2 separate regions of the Homo sapiens genome follow, and region 2 is linked to region 1. Evidence: promoter capture Hi-C in human tissues and cell types (Jung and others, 2019). All regions are on one chromosome and are shown on one strand. Each heading gives the region's core, a stretch centred on a gene start or on the middle of the fragment in contact. The rest is flanking DNA. Distances are from core to core; before and after follow the strand shown.

Region 1 (6,590 bases), core at 3,597-6,096:
GAAGTGGGAGAGGTGTGGAGTTACTGTTTATCATTTATACTCTGCCTACCTGCAACGGGCATTCCTTTGGAGGTATCTCTCAATAGAGAGCCTGGTTTAAATTAAATCCCAAGGACAACTGAGAGTCAAGTAACTATTGCGAGGTTGCAGACTGGGCAGGCTGGGGAGGTGGGTGGTGATATTAGACAAAAAACAGCCTAACAGGAATACAGAGATACTTCTAGAATATATATGTTTTATCCTAACAAAGAGAAGCCTAGCACTTCATCAGGAGAGCCCTGTTTCCAGCAGTGGGGAAGAAGGTATTGTTGAACGACACCTGAACAACATCCTAGTTGCTATTTTGACCAAAACCACAGAAGATGTTTATTTAGAACTTAAGTTGATTAAAAAATAAAAACAACACAGAAAACTAAGAATACTATCAGCCTAAACAGTTGCTAATGGAGTTTATATACAGACCTTGGAGGAGGGGAGGGCAGGAAGCAGCCACGGTCTAGACAAGGGCTGTCCTAGTGTGGACTCCCAAGGACATACAAAAGGATGCTCTAGACCGTAGGACTGGGGGACTGCCACTCACCTTTACTTTAGCAGCCAGGGTGACAACTGAGAGGTGTCGAAGCTTATTCTTCTGAGCCTCTGTTAGTGGAGGAAGATTCCGGGCTTCAGCTAGGGAAAAACGACAAAGTGTAAGGAATCCTGATTTCAGTTTTCTGGGAAGCCCTAGCCTCCTTCCCTTCCCTCCCACTTTCAATGCCAATTCAGGTCTTGACCCTGACCCTATGCATCCAGGGATCTAAGTGGGATATCCCAGGAATTTCTTCTGAGTCCCTCCAGAAATTGCCCTTCTCCCATCTCCATTACTCCAGAGCACCAACCCCTCTGGTTACCTAAGTAGTCAGCGTATGTCCCATAAGCAAACACTGTGAGCAGCCGGAAGGTAGAGGCAAAGTCACTCTCAGCCAGCTGCGAGAATGAGGAAAAAGGAGGTGACGGGAAGTCTTCCCTCTCCACCCTCCCAGCCTTACCCTGTTTGGAACTCCACTTTTTGGCCCCATCTTTCCCGGCCAATGTTAACTCTCCTGGCTCACCAAAAGGAGTTCTCTGCCTCTCTGATCACTCTTCACATAGGAAGGGCTCATTTCCACCTTCAGGCTTTTGTTTACACTATTCTCCCAAACCACAATGCCCTCTTGCTCCATACGTCATCCAATTCCTACCCTAAATTCAGAGTTGAAGACATTCAGTTTTCAGAGTCAAACAGACATACACACCAGACACTGCAAATTGTGTTGCCTGCCCTCAGAGTGTTTGATGTTTCTAAATTGGAATATGTCTAGACAGTCTCCAGTACTCCCCAATTCACCAGACTCCTGCCTCAGCCTCACTCATCTCTGACAGCTGCACAGCCTAGAAAGACATCTAAACTTATGGTCTCTGCTTCAGACACACCTGACCAGGACACTGTCTTGCATCACCCAGCCCAGTCCACCCAGATTTCCTCTCCTCCTATCATGGATCACTCATTCTGGCACTTTTTTTTTTTTTTTTTTTTGAGACAGAGTCTCCCTCTGTTACCCAGGCTGGAGTGCAGTGGCGCGATCTTGGCTCACTGCAACCTCCGCCTCCCAGGTTCAGGCAATTCTCCTGCCTCAGCCTCCCAAGCAGGTGGGATTACAGGCGTGCACCACCACACCAGGCTAATTTTTGTATTTTTAGTAGAAACAGGGTTTCGCCACATTGGCCAGGCTGGTCTCGAACTCCTGACCTCAGGTGATCCACCTGCCTTGGCCTCCCAAAGTGCTGGGATTATAGGCGTGAGCCACTGTGCTCAGCTTCATTCTGGCACTTAATCAATCAATCCTTGCAGAAGGTTGCTACCTAAGAATATCTTTCAACAAGATTATAGACCCAGTCTCAGGTATCCCACAGAGCTATGCAGTAATTGCCTCGCAAGAAATACTTGCTAAATAAATAAATAATTCAGATTTCTATCCATTCATCTTCTCTCTTCAACTGGAATGCAAGCTTCAGAAGGGTAAGCTCCATGCCTGGTGCTTTTCTTGTATTCCCAGACCATAAGAAGGGTAGTAAAGAGCCACTTAATAAGTGCTTCTTTTTCTTTTTCTTTGAGATGGTGTCTCACACTGTCACCCAGGCTGGAGTGCAGTGGCGCGACCTCGGCTCACTGCAACCTCCGCCTCCCTTTTTTTTTTTTTTAAATTATACTTTAAGTTCTGGGATACATGAGCTTTTGTTTGTTTTATTTATTTATTTATTTTTTTTTTTGAGACAGAGTCTCACTCTGTTGCCCAGGCTGGAATGCAGTGGTGCAATCTCGGCTCACTGCAACCTCCTGCCTCCCAGGTTCAAGTGATTCTCCTGCCTCAGCCTCCCGAGTAGCTGGGATTACAGGCGCCTGCCACCGCGCCCGGCTAATTTTTGTATTTTTAGCAGAGACGGGGTTTTGCCATCTTGGCCAGGCTGGTCTTGAACTCCTGACCTCATGATCCACCCACCTCGGCCTCCCAAAGTGCTGAGAACAGGCATGAGAGGCATGAGCCACCATGACTGGCCCTGTTTTTCGTTTTTGTCTTGTTTTTTGAGATGGAGTCTCGCTCTGTCGCCCAGACTGGAATGCAGTGGCTCGAACTCAACTCACTGCAACCTCAGCCTCACCCTTCCAAGCAGCTGGGACTACAGGCGCCCGCCACCACACCCGGCTAATTTTTTGTATTTTTAGTAGAGACGGGGTTTCACCATGTTAGCCAGGATGGTCTCCATCTCCTGACCTCATGATCCGCCCACCTCAGCCTCCCAAAGTGCTGGGATTACAGGCATGAGCCACCGTGCCCAGCCCTGTTTGTATTTTTAACAGAGACAGGATTCTGCCATATCGGTTTCACCTCCTGCCCTCAGGTGATCCACCTGCCTTGGCCTTCCAAAGTGCTGGGATTACAGGCATGAGCCACCGCACCCAGCCAAGTGCTTCTTTTTCATCACTTTGATTGATACTCTTTAGTTCCACTGCAGATGAAAGCAGGGAAAAGTCAGCCAGTTTTCTCCATATCACAGAGTGATCCAAAAGGTTAAACCACAGGCCCCAAATAACTTAGCTCAGTTTACCCACATACCACTGTCAGCATGTCAGGACTCAGGCTGCCTCCTCTGATTGTAAATTAACTCTGCCACTTTTGTGTGAACGGTTCTCTCTGCTGTGTTCCTAGCAGTTTGCCATGTGTCTCTGGGAAAAAGACACGTTCTCCCTTAGCTAACTTGAATAGATTAGCATATGCTGCACATAGGGAAGAAAAGGGCATGCTAATTTAACATGTTCACTCTCCACTTGTACCAGACTTCACACTTTCCCATAATCTCACTTTATTCCCACAACAGAGAGGGGCAGTATTGTCTCCATTTTTAAAAGAGAAAGTTGGCTAGGTGCGGTGGCTCAAGCCTGTAATCCCAGCACCTTGGGAGGTCAAGGCGGGCGGATCACGAGGTCAGGAGATCGAGATCATCCTGGCTAACACAGTGAAATCCCATCTCTACTAAAAATACAAAAAAGTTAGCCGGGCATGGTGGCGGGCGCCTGTAGTCCCAGCTACTGAGGAGGCTGAGGCAGGAGAATGGCGTGAACCCAGGAGGCAGAGCTTGCACTCAGCTGAGATCACGCCACTGCACTCCAGCCTGGGTGACAGAGCAAGACTCCGTCTCAAAAAAAAAAAAAAAAAGAGAAAGCTGAAGCCCTAAAACAAAAGTGACCTGATCAAGGTGACATGAGAATTAACAGCTACTACACTGGTGGAGACCGGCTGGAAATCAGGTTTCCTATTCTGAATAGGATGCTCTTTTGCTTAAAATGAAAAATAGTGGGCTTTACAGATCCCTTATCTCCAAAGGAGAGCTGGTTTGCTTGTTCACTGGTTACTTCTGCAAGTTGGCATTTAATTATCACTGTTTTCTTGTTCAACTGAATGGTTATTGGATCACAAAATGAGCCCTGCCCACCCATTCTCAAATTCAAACCTTTGCCCACGCTTCTCTGAGGGCTATTCAAGCCAGCAACCCACCTCTCTAACATTGGGCATGTCCAGCAGTTCTCCAAACACGTAGACACCAGGGGCCTCCAGCACCTGATGGATGAGTGTGGCCAGCGCTGCCCCCTTGGCCGACTTGGCTAGGAGCAGAAATTGCTCCTGGTTCTGCCCTGTCACCTTCACTTCCGCACTCATCACTGCACTGAGTGTGGGGGACTTGGGCTCAGGATGTCCAGAGCTGCAAGGAAAGAGGATGTGAAGCTAGAGGTCCCCGATGGCTGGTCGGATGGGAAGCACAAGGCTGAGGGACTGGATTGTAAAGGCACTAAGTCGGTTCTGCGGTGAGGAATCAGACATGGAGCGGTCTAAAATTCTGATCTAGGAATCCTAAAGTCAGCCACTTCGCAAGGCTGCCACACCCACCCCCTCCCCTGGGCCTAACCCCAAGCCCCATCACGTGCACCCCATTGAACCCCAAGACACAGGATGCAAAGGAGAAATGGGTGTCGCATGGTGTCCACCCTGACGACGCTCCCTCAGCTCTCCATTGCTGCCCCGCACGCGCCCACAACCACGTGACCTCACCCCCATTGAAGCTTACACGTGGCTCCGCCCCCTCCCTTAAAGACACCGCCCAGCGACCGTGGGCTCCCGCCGACTGCTTCGTCGTACCCTGGGTCAGGCTCTGCGGGCCGCTACCTGGAAGCTTCGACCTCCAGCGCACCGGGCGGGGCCGCCGCTCCGTCACCTCCGGCAGCTGTTCCAAGCCTTTCCTGCCACCTCCCTGAAGAGTCGCTCTGGCCACTAAACTCTATGGCGGGCTTCCGGCCGTACTTCCGCTCTAAGGACGCAAATTTCGGCAGGACATGCCCCACCCCCGCGTTCCGACCGCTGAAGCTCCAGTGAGGGACGCAGGCATTCTACTCTTCGATTGGTCGCTGGGGGAAGAATGACGGGCGCCTTTTTAAATGCTTTATTTCAATAAAACTTTATTAGTGGAAGAGCGCCAGCTATTAACTACAGACGTCTCTGGTGGGTCCCTGGTCCCGGCCCATTCTGTGTCTGTTCTAAGCCGCTGGAGAGCTGGAGATCAGGACTGCACTGGGTACCTGAGGCAAGAGAAAAGCTGTAACGGAAGGAGTGAAGAAGAGGGAAAAAAACGGGATGAGGAAACAAGGGGCAGAGAGGAAGCAAACAAAAATCAATAATAGAAGTTTAGCAGCAGAGATCACCTAGGTGGTTCAACCACTCACTTTTTTGAAGAGCAGGAGAAAAGAAGCGAGAAAAATAAAAGAGAGAATAAAGCTAACATGTATTGAGTGCTTACTATTGGTCAGACATCTTTTAAAATTTTATTCCGTTGAATCCTCACAAATATTCCCCTGTGACTTCAGGACACCCTCTACCATGATTACTACATATGTATTAATACTTGTAGAATGATGCTTTCAGTACATGGACTCTTAATTTCTTGGGGAGGAAAAAACCCTATGTGGTTCTCATTTTACAGAAAAGGAAATTGAGGCTCATAAAAATCCAAGGATTTATCTGGAGCTTTTCAAACTCAAAACCATCTTTCTACTTCAATATGATACTTTAATAAAAACAAAAACAACTAACATTTCTATAGTGTTTTATATTTCACAACAGGCTTGCAGAAGGTCAAGTGAGGGTAAAGTTAATGACATCTTGGCCTTTGTGTTAAGCCATGAGCATTACTTAATTCATCTGATACAACGATCTAGTAATTGTTATCTCCACTTTCCAGATGGAAAAACTGAACTCAGGAAAATTAAGAAACTTGTAAGTAATGGAAAGACAAGAAAGTGAAAAAGAGAAAGATAAAGAGAAATAGGACTCGTAGTCTGTTAGGGCTAAAGGAACTGCAGATGCAGTTTATGGTCCGCATATTTTGGTTTGTGATAGAAAATAAGCAGAAACACAGAAAGGAAAGAGAAAGGAGGAAGAGGAGAAGAAGAAATGAATGGAAAAGGTGAAACAAAAGTGAGTAGAAGGAATCAAAGGCATAATAAAATATTCAGAGTTTGAAGGAAGCAAGGAATTAATGAGTCCAAACATTATTATTATTATTTTGCATCCACCCCTCCCCGCCCCAAGCTTATCTTTTTTTTTTTTTTTTAATTTGAGACGGAGTCTCGCTCTGTCGCCCAGGCTGGAGTGCAGTGGCGCGATCTCGGCTCACTGCAAGCTTCGCCTCCCGGGTTCACGCCATTCTCTGGCCTCAGCCTCCCGAATAGCTGGGACTACAGGCGCCCGCCACTACGCCCGGCTAATTTTTGTATTTTTAGTAGAGACGGGGTTTCACCGTGTTAGCCAGGATGGTCTCGATCTCCTGACCTCGTGATCCGCCCGCCTCAGACTCCCAAAGTGCTGGGATTACAGGCGTAAACCACTGCGCCCGGCCAAGCTTATCATTTTTAGAGAGAAGGGAAAAACATGTAAGATGAAGGGATGAGAAAATAACCCGTATTTGTTCTATTTTGCGCCAAGTGCTTTATTTGTTCATTTTTTACTTTTTTTTTTTTTTTT
Region 2 (6,476 bases), core at 1,301-3,800, 350 kb after region 1:
AGGGAAGCTCTATATACTTCTGTATTGCTGAAAAATTGTACTGTGACAAAAACATATTTGTGTATTATTTGTACACTTTAAAAGATCATCTTTAAAATGGACTTCTGACCAAAGTCCAGGTCTCAGATTTCTATTTTCCTCACAACACCAAGCCTGTTCTAGCCCGCTCCAGGTCTAGAATGCTGCAGCACTAGGCTCGCATTGCCACTCCCATACCCGGCAGGACGTGGCAGGGTCACCACCCTTTGGCTCAGCCCAGACCAGGCATTGCAATTCTTCTCACAGAGCCCTTGATATGAAAACTATTTGCCATGCTGCCTTAAGCTAGTGGTTGGATTTCAGGCATGAGCTGGCAAATAGAAAAGGCAGGGAGGTGCTTTTCAGAACCTTTGAGATCAAACAGCCAGGGTGCTGAGCACCTTATTGCAGGGAGGACCATGCCCAATGTAAGGACCTGGCTCAAGGGAGACTGGAGTTTCTAGGGGTCTCTGGGATATGTGGGGCAGTGGGGACAGTGCAGAGACCTTTTCACAGAGCCAAGGAGATAACCCAGCACCCAGAGAGCAGACGAATCCACGGGCTCTGTGTGGGAGTGAGGGAGGCCTTCCCGGCTTTCACATCCAGGTGCACCTGAGCCCCGATCCCCCATGAGTCTGTCTCAGGAAGTAAATGGCAAAAGCGCTAAGTAGATAGCCCCAGAGGAGGAGGAGAATTCTGAATTCTGTTTATAGCTCTGCTCCTATTTTGTTTTCTAACCTCAGAAAACTGATTTATCCTTGGGAAGGGTCAGTTTCTTCATTAGGACAATGAAGAAAAATCCAGCTGTCCCTTCCAAGGGGAGGTATCATGAGCAGTATCAAGGTAAGCAAGGGAACCTGGTTTGGAATCCTGGTTGACACCGGCTTTCACTTTAAGAAGTCGCAAGAGACTGCCGCAAGAGAGGAAGCCACAGACCAGGTTGGACCCTGAGCCTGGAGTACTGCCTTTTCTCTTCTTTGCCTGCTAAACTCCTTGCTTGTCAAGATTCAGCAGAGATGACACCTTCTCTGGGAAGGCTTCCTGAGTCTCCTGCAGTGAGCCCCTAGGCTCCCCTAGCCCTTGGCTCTTATGTCTTATCTCTGAGAAATCTGAGATCTGCACTTTTGTTAGAAGTCCGTTTTAAAGACAATCTTTTAAAGTGTACAAATAGAAACCTTATCTTATTGTATTGCAGGCCTATCTCCTCCCCCGGTGTGTATCAATGCTCAGGCTGGGCCTTTGTCTGCTGGCTTGTGGAGGGAGGCAGGACAAGCCAGTGACCACATTCCTGCACTCTGGGCTGCCTCCTGTGGGGCCCGTGAGGAAGCGGCAGCCTTCCCTGCCGCGTGCAGGGCCTGGGTTGTGTGGGTGGCTCTCCCGAGTCTCCTCCAGCCCTTTTTGGGTCTGATTCTCTGACCCTCCTCTCTCTCCTTGCTCACCACTTGGCACTCCACTCCTTATCCTTTTGCTGCATTAAGTTTGGAAAGAGATTTTGGAGAAAATATAGCCCATCAACGAATTTCTCCTCCTCCCAGGGCCTGTCTAGGCGTGTGCCATGCCCACCCTCTTCCTTTCCAGCGCTGGCCACATCCTCCCTGCACCTTCAGTGCCTGCTTTCCCTGCCTCTTCCTGGGCTCCGGGTCTGTGTCCACAGTGTCCTGCGTGGCCCTCGCGCTGCCTCTGGTTGCCCACATTCCTGCAACTCTGTGACCACAGCAGGGGCGATTACACATTCCTGGCCTGGCAGCCAACAGTGTAAAAAAGAACAGAATGTCCTAGGGCCCCGCCTAGCCCCCAGCTTCACCTGGGCCCCTCCCGGGTCTGGACAAGGTTGGAGGGGGTGGCGAGGAATCAGCAGGAAAGAGGAGGGACCAGGAGGAGGCAGACGCATCCCACCTGAGTGCGCTGCTCCCACTTAGTGAGCGGGGAGGAGACCTGCAGAGACCTCTTCTCTCTTCTCTGCAGGGCCTGAGGGTGAGGCTGACCTGTGGGTGCCCTTGGAGGGCTGCCCACTTGCTGAGCCTCTAGCTCCTGGAAGCACACTTGGGACTCCCCCCTTGCTCTCCTTCCTGGAGACAGACTCCCTTTGGTGCTGGCTCCTTCTATTTGCCCCCACCACTGCCCCCCACCTGCCTCTACTCACTCAGTGCCCCTCCTCCATCCCTATCTCTCTGTCCTTCGCTGTCCCTCTCTATTGTCTCCCTCTTTCTGCCCTCCTGTCCTCCCGGTTCCCCACCCAGGCCCTCTCAGCCTGGCTGGCCCCTTCTCCTTGTGTTGCCCTCCTAGCTGTGGGCTCAGGATCCTTCTACTTGTTCAGATCTTTGCCCCTCACCTGCCATCCTGTCCCCCAGCCTCCTTGCCTGTCTGCGTCTAAAGCCCCTGCCCAGAGTCCGCCTTCTCAGGTCCAGTACTCCCAGTTCACCTGCCCTCGGGAGCCCTCCTTCCTTCGGAAAACTCCCGGCTCTGACTCCTCCTCAGCCCCTCCCCCCGCCCTGCTCACCTTTAATTGAGATGCTAATGAGATTCCTGTCGCTTCCATCCCTGGCCGGCCAGCGGGCGGGCTCCCCAGCCAGGCCGCTGCACCTGTCAGGTGAGGGGGAGGAGAGGTTTGGCTGCCAGATTCAACTGGAAAGGAACCAGTCCCAGTCCAGCCGCAACCTGGGAGTGGGAAGCTGGAGGCAGCCCAGACCTCCTGGAGCCCTGCAGTCCTGGGGCAGAGACAGAATCAGGACACAGCTCGAGGTCAGGGCCAGAGGCTGGAGCTGAGGGCCTAGAGTGAGAGGGGGCAAGGCAAGGGGGGGAGAGGAAGAGAGGCAGGATTAGAGAGAGGAGGCAGGCCAGAAAGAGGAGAGCAGGAGAGACCCAAAGAGAAACAGAAGGCAGATAGAGAGGGAGTGAGAGGCAGGAGCTGAGACACAGATCCTGGAGGAAGAAGACCAAAGGAAGGGGGCAGAGACAGAAAGGGAGGTGCTAGGACAAAACTCGAAAGGTGGCCCTATCAGGGAAGCAGAGGAGAGGCCGTTCTAGGGAAGCCCAGCTCCGGCACTTTTGGCCCCAACTCCCGCAGGTCTGCTGGCTCCAGGAAAGGTGGAGGAGGGAGGGAGGAGTGGGAGAATGTGGGCGCAGGGTGGGACATGGGCATGGCCAGGGGCAGCCTCACTCGGGTTCCAGGGGTGATGGGAGAGGGCACTCAGGGCCCAGAGCTCAGCCTTGACCCTGACCCTTGCTCTCCCCAATCCACTCCGGGGCTCATGAAGGGGAACAAGCTGGAGGAGCAGGACCCTAGACCTCTGCAGCCCATACCAGGTCTCATGGAGGGGAACAAGCTGGAGGAGCAGGACTCTAGCCCTCCACAGTCCACTCCAGGGCTCATGAAGGGGAACAAGCGTGAGGAGCAGGGGCTGGGCCCCGAACCTGCGGCGCCCCAGCAGCCCACGGCGGAGGAGGAGGCCCTGATCGAGTTCCACCGCTCCTACCGAGAGCTCTTCGAGTTCTTCTGCAACAACACCACCATCCACGGCGCCATCCGCCTGGTGTGCTCCCAGCACAACCGCATGAAGACGGCCTTCTGGGCAGTGCTGTGGCTCTGCACCTTTGGCATGATGTACTGGCAATTCGGCCTGCTTTTCGGAGAGTACTTCAGCTACCCCGTCAGCCTCAACATCAACCTCAACTCGGACAAGCTCGTCTTCCCCGCAGTGACCATCTGCACCCTCAATCCCTACAGGTCGGTTAGTCCCTCTGCCCCTTCCCTGGTGCCTGCGCCTGGAAGGGTGGTCCAGGGTGCTGAGGTGCTCACTGGGCAGGCAGAGCCTCAGACCTGAGGGTGGGAACTGACACCCCTGTCCCAGGTAGAGCTCACTGCTGGCAAAATGAGGAGCCTCCAGCTTACTGGACTGGCGTCCCTGCCCAGTGGAGCCATCCTAGCACCCCAGGCTCACCCAGAGTGTGGTTGTTGGAGCAGCATTGCCCTCCCCTGCCCTCTCTTCTCCTTCCCTCCCATTCCCTTCTCCCTCCTGCAAGTGGGAGGGAGTGCTTGCAAAAGGGCAGGGGTGTGCTCAGCTGCATCCCTTTTCTGGAGCAAGATGCCAGCAAAGTATAAGACCTCGTCCACCTCAGCAGGAGAGTCTGATGGAGGGGTGAGGCTAGGTGAGGGGAGGCGAGACCGTGCAGGTGCTGTGGAGGTGGTGCTGTCAGTCTTTGTTTAGAAGGGGAATTTATTATGGAGAAAGCAAAGAGGGGGATCGTGGAGGTTAGGGCTGCAAGTGAGCCCAAAGGCTGGGGGCAGGGGCCTTACAGAACAAGGAGAATGGGTCAGGCTAGAGAGCAGCTCCTTGTGAAGCTCTTCCCCCAAAAGACCCAGGCTAAAATGCTGCACTGTTGACCTGCCCAGGTGCCTGACCTTTACGTGCTTGGGTGTGTCCTGAACTTTTGGGTTTCATCGGTGCTCTTTGCCAATGTTGGGTCTGGAAACCGGAGCAGGTGGTAAGCGTGGAGAAGAGAGGAGGGCAGGGCTGAGTGCTTTTGTATACCTTTTATTTGTATTCACTCAGCCATGCCACACCTTGGGAACACCTGCTTCAAGCCAGACACAGGGCTAGGCACCTGGCAAAATGGATTCATGAATAATTCATAAGCCCTTTATTGAAGGCCAGGTAGTTTGCTGTGTTGTGGAGACAGATAAAATAAGATAGCAGAGACAGGCATATAAGCCAGTAACTGTGGCACACTGGGATAAGTATGATAAAAATGGTGAGTTAGTGTACCTTCAAGGAGTGCAAAATCTTTATGGGTGTGGGTGTGAGTGTGTGTGTGCACATATTGGTATGTGTGCGATTTTGGATGCTGGGGATTGGTCATGCTGTGGGTGGAGGCCCCTTCGTATATTCCATCATGTCCAAAGGTGCGTTACGGACTAAGAAAGGGTGGGACGTCCTGTCCTGGAGAGAGAGAGAAAAAAAAAAGCCAGGTCATTTCGTTGATTAACGTCTGTATAATGTCCCAGGTAGGGACCATTTCCTTAGGAAGCTGCCGTGTGCACAGACGCTGCGAAGGTGTCTTGGGTATCTCATTTCATTCTCACATCTTACAAGCCCGGTGCTATTGTTATCCCTATTTTACACTTGAGGAAACTAAGGCAAAGAGAGGCAAGTCACAACATCACAGAGAGAGTGACTGAGCTGTGACTCATCCTGTTTACGCCTAATCCCAAAACTCTGCCTCTTTTTAATACCCAAGATGTGGGGCTTTGAGTGAATGAAACTTCCAGTCAGATGTGGCTTCCGCCTCATTTCAGAGCTCTCTTGGGTCCTTCCTCTTAGCCTCATTTTTCTCCCCCTGCTGCCTGCAGACATCTTCACCCCTTTAGGCCTTGGTGGAGGGGAGGGACCCAGCAGGAAGGGGAAGGACAGCAGGCGGGGCAGTGGGCACTCAATAAATATTTGTGGTTGAAAATATGTCAGTGAGAGATGGAAAGGGAGGGCAGGGGTGAATCGGGTGAGGCCTGCACAGTTCTTAGGTTCTGCTGGATGCGGGGCCCTAGACAGTCCAGGAAAAAGCCGGGGAAAGGAAGCCATAAGCCCTGCCTCTGGGGCCTGCAGGCTGGGAGGCAGCCATCTGCCCAGAAAGAATCCCTCCTTCTTGAAGGGCTGCTGTGGGAGTCGGGAGGGAGAGAACACCTAGGAGAGGAGAGGAGTCGGGGAAGGGCTCCCCAGCACAGCGGGAGGAGATGCAACACCCACCAAGCACTACACACTTGACCTTGTAGTCACATTATGTGCTACACCCTAAAGCTGGGTGCTTTATAGACACTCTCTCATTTAATACTGACAAGTCCAGGGAGGTGGGCAGTATTATTCCCATTTTTTTAGATGAGGAAATTAAGGCTTGGCAAGAGGAAATAATTTGAGCAAGGGAACATACATTATTTATTTATTAAATTAAAAAATAACCGCTGGGCATGGTGCCTCACGCCTGTAATCCCAGCACTTTGGGAGGCCAAGGCAGGCATTGAGGGATCTGGGATGGAGCTCAAACAAGGTTGTTTAAAAGAGCCCCTCACTTGAGGCCAGGAGTTCGAGACCAGCCTGGCCATCATGGTGAAACCCCCGTCTCTACTAAAAATACAAAAATCAGCCAGGTGTGGTGGCGCACGCCTGTAGTCCCAGCTACTTGGGAGGCTGAGGCAGGAGAATCACCTCAGGAGGCCGAGGCTGCAGTGAGCCGAGATCACGCCACTGCATTCCAGCCTGAGCCACAGAGTGAGACACAGTCTCAAAGGAAAAAAAAACAATAATAATGTTTGTATATATTTATGGGCCAGACTTTTTACAAATGAATCTAAATCAAATGATTCTGCTTTAAATTATTTAATTCTCACAACACACCTTGGAAGTAGGTCTCATGATGACTCTTATTTTATGGATGAGGAAACTGAGTCCCAGAGAGTTAAGTAACTG

The links. Contacts are between HindIII fragments. The study calls those that stand out against the background at their distance.
Region 2: a contact is called between the fragment with the promoter of SCNN1A here and the fragment with the promoter of COPS7A in region 1, in 1 of the 25 tissues and cell types used here (hippocampus).

The regions. Positions count from the first base shown.
Region 1 is chr12:6,722,302-6,728,891 of GRCh38, reverse strand. COPS7A (COP9 signalosome subunit 7A) reads right to left here and starts at 4,846. Exons shown (of 8, transcript NM_001164094.2): 1 at 4,713-4,846; 2 at 4,074-4,278; 3 at 891-966; 4 at 581-669. The coding sequence starts at 4,235. RefSeq lists enhancers at 4,192-4,411, 4,542-4,681, 4,712-4,921. The HindIII fragment of the contact is 8,117 bases long and covers 3,333-6,590 here.
Region 2 is chr12:6,371,637-6,378,112 of GRCh38, reverse strand. SCNN1A (sodium channel epithelial 1 subunit alpha) reads left to right here and starts at 2,550. Exons shown (of 13, transcript NM_001038.6): 1 at 2,550-2,608; 2 at 3,276-3,745. The coding sequence starts at 3,330. LOC105369626 (a long non-coding RNA gene) reads right to left here. Exons shown (of 4, transcript XR_931591.3): 4 at 4,538-4,958. It also overlaps a transcript of LTBR not described here. RefSeq lists enhancers at 1,118-1,722, 3,539-4,143. The HindIII fragment of the contact is 22,523 bases long and covers 1-6,476 here.